2 separate regions of the Homo sapiens genome follow, and region 1 is linked to region 2. Evidence: promoter capture Hi-C in 16 types of primary human blood cells and fetal thymus (Javierre and others, 2016). All regions are on one chromosome and are shown on one strand. Each heading gives the region's core, a stretch centred on a gene start or on the middle of the fragment in contact. The rest is flanking DNA. Distances are from core to core; before and after follow the strand shown.

What was found. The method cuts DNA at HindIII sites, captures the fragments that hold promoters and counts their contacts. A CHiCAGO score of 5 or more calls a contact.
Region 1: a contact is called between a fragment that was not itself captured here and the fragment with the promoter of KIF21A in region 2, in 1 of 17 cell types (non-activated CD4 T cells). The highest score is 5.1, in non-activated CD4 T cells.

Annotation. Positions count from the first base shown.
Region 1 is chr12:39,642,529-39,647,976 of GRCh38, reverse strand. REDIC1 (regulator of DNA class I crossover intermediates 1) reads right to left here. Exons shown (of 13, transcript NM_001031748.4): 3 at 4,060-4,198; 4 at 1,516-1,648; 5 at 1,089-1,137; 6 at 1-185. Among named protein-coding and RNA genes, the nearest start is that of REDIC1, 19 kb to the right of the region's middle. The HindIII fragment of the contact is 879 bases long and covers 2,654-3,532 here.
Region 2 is chr12:39,440,233-39,445,622 of GRCh38, reverse strand. It overlaps KIF21A (kinesin family member 21A), which reads left to right and starts at 2,503. Exons shown (of 38, transcript NM_001173464.2): 1 at 2,503-2,696. The coding sequence starts at 2,653. RefSeq lists enhancers at 1,833-1,892, 2,174-2,674, 3,493-3,562 and a silencer at 1,973-2,872. The HindIII fragment of the contact is 8,179 bases long and covers 1,991-5,390 here.

The sequences.
Region 1 (5,448 bases), core at 1,844-4,343, 200 kb before region 2:
TGGTCATTCTGCTTTTTTTCATATGCAAGTTTCTGAGGAGTAGGTGCTATTCCAGATGTGAAATTTAGTTTTGAAATATGTCTGTTAGAAGGTAACTCCACTGAAAAAGATGATGGAGTGAAACTGCAGTTCTCTATTTTGCTGAACTGAGGGTGAAGCATACTATATGAGTCCATGCCTTGTGACTATAGGAAAGAAGATAAAATCATTTACATTACCAAAATATATAAACTAGAGAAGAGGAAAGTCAAAATAGTGAAATTAAAATAAGTGAAAAGGGCAGGGGTTACAAAAGAAAATGTCCTAAGGCAAGGCAACCCATCAGTAATTGACAGAACTTACTAGGAAGAGAGTGGTTACCAGTGAAGGCTATACTGAAGAGCACCCTTCCCTCTGCCTTCCCTACTCCTGCTTCTCTCCATCCTCCAGCTCCATTCCTGTAGGCTACCTTCTAAAGACAGGAAATCTGAGTTTCATTAACCCATAATCCAGGTGATAAGATTTCTAAGGGATTTTAGTATCATTGCCATTATCTTTCTGATCTAGCTTAACTCTGGCAATTCAAAGGAAAAAAATGATAGCTAACAATATGACATTAGATGTTAAAGTTTCAAGCTTTAATTATAATCTATGCATTTTCTAATTGATTAAAATTTTATTTGCTAAGAAAATTATTTGCTATACTTTGAAAGAGAAATCATCTTGGGATCCACGTGAGGGTTGGACATCACAATTTGATATAAAGTAATCTGGTTACTATGTTTGAACAGATGAATTGCTCAATAATCACGTGAACCCAAAGTAAGAATCCCTAAGTGAACTGTCCTTGGCAGCTCATCAGTAACAAGCAGAATCAAATGTTATGCAAACATAGGCCTAGTCACATTACCAGCAGTCCAAAGAGATTCTCATAAGCAATCAATTAAAATATTCTTAAGGCATAGATTTCTCACCTGGAAAGCTTTTAAAAGAATTAAAGACTCAAAATTTTCTTTAAAATAATTTTCTCCAGTATTCAGACATTTAGATCATTAGGTAGCATATCACAATTGCTGAAATAACCTATAGAATTTTTTTAAAAATCTCACCTGGACTGGGCCAAGATCTTCCTTGCTACTTAGTCTTTGACAGTTTACACTAATGAAAAGAAAAATTTAGGTTAAAAATATAAATTGAAATAAAATCGACTGTCCTTTCCTATATTTAAAATTCATACTGTTCTACACAAAACATATAGAAACCTAAGTAAATCACTACAGGGTCATAATATTACTAAGTTTTATAAAAATTATATTAATACTAGATACAGACATTTTTATGATAAGGTAAGTCAAACAAAGTGTACAAAATCTGGATCATTTGATGAAGGTCTTAATCATTGCATAATACTGTTAACAGCCAAACAAACAAAAACTGGGGGTAGAAGGTAAGTATTTTATACATTTTCGAGTGAGTAAAAGTGTTGTTAATAACCAGTTTAAACACCTAATAATATAAATCCTAGCTAAAACCTACTTGGTTTCTGTATCATCAAGGCAGAGTTTAGAAGGTACACAGTGAGGCGACATTGTAAGTTCTAAATTATGCTTTCTTAGGGGCATTTTTATGTCTCTATTCATGTTCACATGGGTTGGTTTTCTCACAGTTTCTATAATAAAAAATATATAATTATAATTTTAAAATAAGAATAAAAAATTGTAAAAGTACTGTTTAATAAATCATGTTCATTACATAAACATATATCTAAGAAATTTTACTAAAACATTTACATTCTATCAGTGCTAAAATAAATCATTACAATATAAACAACTATCAGAGACTTTAAAACATATTCATCATCTTATATATTCCTCATTATAGCTGCCCTATTAATTTAGTTCTACTTTTTCTTCCACCAAGATTTCTATGATCTCCAGACTAGATTAGTTACTATGTTATATATTCCCACAGTACTATATATATTTTCCCTTTCTCTGGTCAGTACTTTCACCTACTCTATTTTTGTGATACACCCACCCAAACTATATACATAGTTATAGTGTAGATTTTATATCTTCTTATAAAACTCTGCCTCAAGCCAGGCATAGTGGCTCATGCCTGTAATCCCAGTTACTAAGGAGGCTGCAGTTGGAGGATGGCTTGAGGCCAAGAGTTCAAGACCAGCTTGGGCAACACAGTGAAACCCTGTCTTTAAAAACAAAACAAAATAAAAGTCTTGTCTCTCTGGATAAAATAATTGATTTGGCAGTAGCCATCTGACTAAAGGTGAACCAATAATCGTATCCCATTCTGCTAGTTATAAGCAAAATTTTTTCACTGTGAGATTGGTACCAGTAGCACAAGGAAATATTCTTACAGTGGAATTTTAAAATGTGGGACCAGAGAAACAACTCTCAGTATTTCCTTGGTGGCAAAACTAGAGAAGGTGAGTAATATTAGTTTCTTAAGGCCATGTTTTGAGCCTCAATGATGAAGACAGTCTGAGAGAATAAAGTTAATGACTGAAGTGAAAAAGAATCTTGATAGTATTCAAGTCCCTGTTTCAAGTCATCTCTGAGGCCCACTGCACCATCACTCTTCCTGTTAAAGGAGTAAAAAGATAACTGTTTTGAATTTCTGTCATTTGCAGCCATGAGTCCTGATTAGTAAAGCTTGCTTTCTGTTTTATCCTCAGCACCCAGTAGAGTACTTACAGTGGGTACCCAATAAAAATATGCTGAAGAAATAAATGAAAAGAAAGTGCAGGAGTTCAGGCCATTATCCCAAAATAAGTCATCTTGCTATTTAAGAAAACAGCAGAAGCAGGAAGGTTACTCTCAGCTTTCCCCTGAAGCAGGTCATAAAACCCTCATTCGAGAAGTGCTCTGGTTATACTTGGAAGAAAATAATATCCCTATCTCTGAAGACGCAGGGTCACAAAGAAGAATCTGAACAAAGAGGCCTTGCTAAGATCCCCTTAGTTTATTACTATTAGATCATTCTTTTAAAAATCCAATCATACTTCTTGAGGACCATCCACTTTTTCATCAAACCTGGCAAGAAAAATACACAAGTTTAGCCATTTCTTCCAATCTTAAGATCTTAAATTTCTTATCAAGGCTCTTGTGTCACATAAAACTTACTAAATAAATCTGTATGTTTTTCTCCTGTTAATCTGTCTTTTGTTATTGAGGGTTTAGCCATAAACCTAGCAATGGATGAGGAAATATATTTTTATTCCCCTACGACTGGGAATAAAGGTAAATACATCAAAAAGATTTACAACAATAAGTTTTATTCTCAAAATCCATGAACAATGTATTTATTCTTTCTAAAGTATAACTAAATTTACTTGTGTAAACTGTTATCTGTGGAGGGAGAAAAAAAATGACGGAGAAAGGAAATGAGGAAATATTAACAATACTCTGATCAATTTCTATCCCTTCCTGATAAATTGTCTTATTTTTATGCTCTCATTTTTAGCAGTTGTTTTAAAAATTAAATATCAGACACAAGTTCCTCTAAAAGAGGAAAAATATACTCTAATTAAGCTTTTTATTTACTTGAAGTATCAAAATATATGACAAAATGGACTTTATTTTGCAGTATTAGACTTCTATGATTAACATCCCAGGAAAGTGTAATAAATAATTCAAGTGATGACATAGGAAACTAGTCATTGAAGCAAAAATCTTTGCAGATCTTCCTTTCAGACATACCCTTTAAATAGTAAAGAATAGTTAATTTGTTGATATGTATTAACATTTATTCCCTGCTCTCTAGCTAAACTTTGGTAACTACCTGCCTGTATAGAATAATGTAACAACTGTACTATAATAAGTTTAGTGACACCTAATAAATTAATTTTATATAACACATACACAAAATAAAAATAAAAATTGGATTAAGCAACAAAACGTTTTAAGCAGATATTAACTAGGCATCTAATTTAAGAGAGCAACCAAATTTTAAAATTAATTTTCCACATGCTTTGAGCTCAAAAATTACAAACTAATTAGAAGACTAAACATTATTATGATCACATCAAGTTCAAAACAGAATGCAATTGGAATGACTTACCAGGAATTTTCTTCTTGCAAGATATCTGATTTACCATATATAGGTTAAGAATGTCTAAGCTGACAGCAGAATTTTTGACAGGAGATAAAACTCCCAGTGATTTCATTTTTGATTTTAACCTGTGTTTTTCAAAATATTCCTAAAATAATTAAAAATTAAAAACAATGCAGCAAATATGCGGTTTTAGACAGAATTATAAATAATAAAAAAGCAATCATGTTATTAAGTCATTGACTTGATACTTTTATATTTTGTGACATCTTTATATGTTTATAAATACATTACAATTAATCATAACTTGCAGTTTGCCTAAAGACTAAATTTCACAGCCTTTTATCATCTTCCTTAAGCATAACCTTTAAAACAGAATGCTATAAAGCTATTCTCTGAAATCAAAAGATTAGAAATTATCTCTATATAGAAAGTTAAAAAAATCTGGTAACAGAACAATTCTGACAGGCTAAAATCTTGTTCTTGTTTTTCTACAAAGTATGCTATTCTGCAGACATAGAAAACCTTAAAAATATGCACAGCTGAGTGCCATTAAAAGTCAACAGAAATGAAGAAAAAAAAAGCTATGTGCAAATTAATCTGCAACCAAAGCCAATTTCGTTTATTTGTTATCCCTCCATGATTCCCAGATGTTTGTTTTTTTAACAAGACTTGCACATAATTATCACTTTATCCAGTTTTTATTTTCTTTCTGTTTGAACTGTTATTATTCTTTCTTATTGCCATTCTTTTTCTTTCAGGTTACATCATTAATTCATTTAAATAAAAATTAACTAATATTTATTTATCAAGCAACTATTATGTGCTAGGTTGTGAAAACATCTTCTCTTCCATTAAATAACTCATAATATAATGCTATGAATGTAAATATAAATGCGAAATTGTCAGAAATGAGAAAAAGCCAAGATGGCAAAATATTTAGTGCAAGAGGTCATAATTTGAAGAGGTTACATATCATATTTATTTTCAAGAAGTTGAGGCTCTTTCACATTAACATTTCAGAATATTGTTAATTATAACTTTTAAGTTTGTAAAAATCTTGTAAGAACTATAACAGACTTGCCAATGATCACACACAAAAAAGTAAATGTCTTGTTTTACAAAATAAATAACAGATAAAAGGTATTTGTTCATATTTCATTTGAGTGATCTGGAACTCCAAATTAGACTAAAATGTATTTTTAAAGACCATACTATGGTTAAGCAATGAAATAACAGGATCTTCAGGATGTAAATAGTTTTCCACCTTGAAACAACAACTCAGTCAATGCTAGATCTTATAATTGATTGTGTCCTGGAATTAAGAAGTTGTTAGTTCATCTGTACAAAGTACAAAGGCACTGTACTTTGTGATGGATAAGACCATAGTGAGGGAGA
Region 2 (5,390 bases), core at 1,254-3,753:
ATTGGATTTGCATTTCATCAAGGCAATATTCAGCCAGAGCTGAGGATGGCCACCACCTTTGGAAGGGGCCTGTGTCTCTATTTTATGATAGTCCTCACCTTTATCATAGTATTCATCTTGCTCTGCTCTTTTGAGCTACCTGCCTGGCTCCTGTAGGCATTTGTGTTTGTGACTCCCCTTACTGAGACATATATGTATACTATTGTTATTTAAAATGAGAACTTTTTTTGGCCAGGTGAGGTAGCTCATGCCTGTAATCCCAGCACTTTGGGAGGCTGAGGTGGGCGGATCACTTGAGGTCAGGAGTTTGAGACCAGCCTGGTAAACATGGTGAAATCCCATCTCTACTAAAAATACAAAAATTACCTGGATGTGTTGGCACATGCCTGAAATCCCAGCTACTCCGGAGGCTGAGGCACGAGAATCCCTTGAACCCCGGAGGAGGATGTCGATGTCGCAGTGAGCTGAGATCACACCATTGCATTCCAGCCTGGATGACAGAGCGAGACACTGTCTCAAAAAATAAAATAGGCTGGGTGTGGTGGCTCATGCCTGTAATCCCAGCACTTTGGGAGGCCGAGGCGGGTGGATCACAAGGTCAGGAGTTCAAGACCAGCCTGGCCAATACGGTGAAACTCTGTCTCTACTAAAAATACAAAAATTAGCTGGGCATGGTGGCACACGCCTGTAGTCCCAGCTACTCAGGAGGCTGAGGCAGAAGAATCGCTTGAACCCGGGAGGCAGAGGTTACAGTGAGCCGAGATCACGCCACTGCACTCCAGCCTGGTGACAGAGCAAGACTTTGTCTCAAAATAAAATAAAATAAAAAAGAACTTTTTTTAAAAAGAGGGTCTTAATTATACAAATTTCTCTTTAGTTTTCTTGTTAAATGTGCTGGGCCATTCTTGCTTTCCTTGCAGCTTTCATCAACAAAAGAAGCAAGGTGGCCAGCCCAGATCCACCCAGATATGGGCTTGCCAGGGCAGGGTGAAATGCAGCTCTGATTTGTTGATGGATAAATTTTGAGGCTAGGAAAGGCCCTCCAAAGAGTAGCCAGAGGAGAGCTTTCCCACCAATTTGATCTATAGAAGGATACTCAGCATCTCTGCCCTCTTTACCTCCCAGTTACATGTCTGTTAAGATTTAGGGGTAGTGAGATTAAGGGACAGAATAAATTTAAAACTATCTATAATTATATACCCCATCGGCCTTCCCATGGGTTTAAATCATCAAACACTTCTTGTTTTTCCCATAGTGTTGCAGCCTTCTCTGAGCCACACTGCTGTATCACTGCTGAACAAGATGATTAGGTATGTGATTGTAGATTGCAGGCATTTGAGGTAGTGCCTTTATTTGGATAGTGCCATTTAATTTGTGATACTATTTCGTATGAAGCCACATGTTTGTTTATAGAGATGTATGGAGCAGTCCACAAAAGATACTCTGTGGCAAAGCTAATAAAGGCTGTTTCCACAGAGCTATCTGAAGGCATGTGGAAGCACAATAGTGACAAACAGAAACCACAATGGGTCAATGTTGAGAGAATCCTGGGATTGGGAGGTGCTTTTTAAAGGCCAGAAGGGAAAGAAAATCAGTTTGGAAGGATTTACTACACAGCAGGTCTTGGTGGATATATTCAGTTCTGGGAACACTTGGCAGTACCAGGGTGCAGTTCATTTACCAGTGTACAAATGATTGAACAGAAAAGCATTCAGGAGTCTCGAATAAATCATTTCCATATCCCACCCGAGCTGGTAAACGGGCGATGAACTGTAGAACAGCCCAGCTGTCCAGAGACAGTGGACAAACCTGGGAGTCCGTTTAGCATGAATGACTGACTCCGGGGAGGGAGGAGGGAGGGCGTTCAGCTGGGGGCTAGGGAAGGGGGTCAAAGTCCAAGCTGCAGAGAGGACAATAAGGCTATGCGTGGGACACAAAGCCGAACCGCAGCAGCAGCTGCCTGGCTCCCGGCGCGCCGCTGAATCAAGCTTCGATTTGAGAAGGGACCTGGCAGCAGCGCGTGCACTAGCTGCTTCCTTCTCCCAGAAGAGCCTGGAAGGGCGCACAGGCTGGTCGCCCTCGGGCGAGGGCAGCCGGCGGCAGGCATCCCTCCCCCTCGCCTCCCTGCCCAGCAGCGCCAGGCAGTGTCCCGACGAGGGCAGGGCGGGGCGCAGGCTGGGGGAGGGCGAGGTGGGGCTGAGCCGCGCGGCGGCGGCTGACGCAGTGCGGGGCGAGGAGCCCGGAGCGCCCTGGCGGGCGTGGAGTCCCCAGCCTGGCCGCTGGGAGGCCGCGTCCCCACCGGAGGGGGCAGGGCGCACTCACCCGGCCGCCCTGAGGCCGCTGGCGGCCTGTTGGCTTCTCCACAGGCGCGCTCGCCGTTCAAGCGCGCTTTGTCCCCGCCCCAGATCCTGGGGGGTGAGCGGTGGAGAAGGGGCGGGCGCCCGCGAGCCGTGAATCACCTCCTCCTCTTGCTGCCTCAGCGCCGCCGCCACCTTTCCATTCAGTCGCCCAACATGGCTGGAGCGCGGCGGAGGTGAGCCGGCCGCCCGCCCGCAGACGCCCCAGCCTACTGCGCCCGAGTCCCGCGGCCCCAGTGGCGCCTCAGCTCTGCGGTGCCGAGGCCCAACGGCTCGATCGCTGCCCGCCGCCAGCATGTTGGGCGCCCCGGACGAGAGCTCCGTGCGGGTGGCTGTCAGGTGAGGACAGTCTGCCGGCGGCGGGCGGCGGGCGGCGGGTTGAGGGCGCGGCAAGGACCTGGCTGTGGCGCGGAGCACCGGCTACCGGGGTGGAGCGACCTGAGGGGCGTCCCGGCCGGGTTCTGCGGCTGAGGAAACTGAGGCAGTGAGTCCCCGCTGGCCTGGCACGCGCGGCCGGGTGCTGGCAGGGCGACTGCGCCGCCCTCACGCCGTCTGTGTTTGCAGGTGGCTGGCGGCTGCGCGGCGCCGGGTCCCTGGGGGGCGTCTTGACTTCTCTGGGGGAAAAGCCCTCGTCACTCCCCTCCGTCCCCTCGCGGGATCAGTCACCTCAGGTCTGGCCGCCTTGGGCTATCGCCTGTCCGGGAGGAGCTGCCTGTGCGCGGGGCTGTGGTGTTCTTTTTTATTAGTTCTAGAATGTCTGTCATACGTGTCCATGCAGCTCCGGCCTTCCCAGGCAGGAGACAAAGCATCTGACTATCAGCGCCGGCGACCGCAGGGCCCGCCGCGCGCCCACTCGGGTTCTGATGTCTGTGCAAATGAGACATCTTTTTCAGCATCACGGGGATCTAGACATGCCCCCGCGTGTGGGTAGAGGAGACAGATCTAGCCTCTTGGGTGTTGGAATGGGAGTGGAATTTAAGGTAAAATCCACTGGGGAGAGGTCTACAGAAGGAGGAAAACTCTTTAGCCAGAGGAAGGGTGAAATGGGTGACTGTGTGAAACATACTGACATTAGGCAGGGTGGATACAATGTAATCGTAACGTTACCCAGGCCAGGGTGTGAGTCTGGAAATACTAGGTACATCCTAGTATTGAAATTATATTTCGGCCAATGACAGGCACGAGTATTCGATGTAATTTCGGCTGTTTTGATACTTATCAAGAAGGAAAGCTCTGATAGTTGCTCATGGAAAATTGCAACATCATCACACTGTGTGAAAAATTAATGAAGCATTCATCCTAGAGTAAGTGCGTGGCTTTCACAGCTCTGAGAGTCTACTGTTAATTCACTTCTCCTTATTTATGCTTTAAGGATTATAAAAATAATCTACACTCCAAGGAATTAGGAACTATTAACAATCTCCCAGTCTTGTAGTCTTTCCAGAAAATTATTCTAAAAATTCTCCCCTCTAAACATTTCTATAGTTACTATTTTAGTGACACATCTTGGGTCAGGCATAGTAATGGCTGTTTCGTATACTTTGTATCTTTAATTAACTTAAATAATAAAATGAGTTTTTAAGTGTTTTTTTTTTTTTTTTTTTTACCACCCAGGGAGGTGACAGTTTTATGACTGGTTAGAATCACCTGTTATAAGGCTTTTGAAGTTTTAATTAGGCCTTCTTCGTTATTCTAGGGCTACTTATCCAATTGTTAGATTAGTCTGTTTCTCCTATTCACTGCTACTACCTCTCTTTTGGCCCTTTAATACCAGTTAATGACTGCACCAGGGTGGAGAAAGGGGAAGGAAAAAGACAGAAAACCCAATAAGAGGCAATTTTGTTAGGAGATCTGATCAAGGAAAGTGAAGAAGGTGCATAAAATATTACTGAAAACAGACAATTTGTCTGTTTTTAGACGTTTGAGATTTTTATATGTGAATTCTCTAGACTATCACAAGGCAGTTTGTTGACCATTCTGTTAAATCCGATGCTTCTTTGCCTGTAGAGCCATGGATGACCCTAAAGTGATGCTGACTGATAAATAACTTGTATTTTGTTTTGGTGTGTATGTTAGGACTTTTTAGGTGAATGAATGTGGGTTTGATTTTTGGGGAAAGGCTTTATAAAAACTTCAACATAACTTAGTAAGCCATATTGTAAAGATTCAATTTGTTGAATTCAGGATTCCTTCCTTCCTTCCTTCTTTCCTTTCTCTTTCTCTCTTCTTTCCTTTCTTCTTTCTTTTTTTTGAGATAGGGTTTTGCTGTGTCACCCAGGCTAGAGTGTCGTGGTGCCATCATAGCTCACTGCAGCCTCAACCTCATGGGCTCAAGCAATCCTCTAATCTCAGCCTGCTGAGTAGCTGAGATCACAGGCATGTGCCACACTGCTTGGCTAATTTTTATACATTTTTGTAGATATGGGGCCTCCCTATGTTTCCCAGAGTGGTCTTGTACTCCTGGGCTCAAGCCGTCCCTCCCAAATTGCTGGGATTACAGGCATTAGCCACTGCGCCTGGATAAATCGGGGATTTCTTTCATTAAATACATTGTTCTCTGAACAGAGCTACCTTGTAAACTTACTTTATATAGGATAAAAATAGCTTATACTCATATAGCACTTTAGTATTTATAAAGTGTTTGGACTTATATTGTTCATTTATAACCATTATTTATTGAAGATATATACCCGTCTCTGTTATCCTGATTTCTGGGCTAAAAGTAGTGATAATTGTTTGACTTATACTGTGTGCCGGGATTAGTGCTGTGTTAAGATGTTTTATCTCATGTAAAGTCTTATTTATTCCTCATAACAATCTGTGACTTAGGTCCTGTTATTATGGCCATTTACAGATGAGGCACAGAAAGATTAAGTAAACCATCCAAAGTTAAATTGGTAACAAATGAGAGAGCCAGGGTTCCAACCCAGATAGCTTGACTCAGTAGCCCAAGTTCTTAACCATTAACCCTGCGGAAGTGAGAGGCAAGAACATGGCTTTGCAAAGTTTCACTTAGCTTTGGGTCAGTTGCCT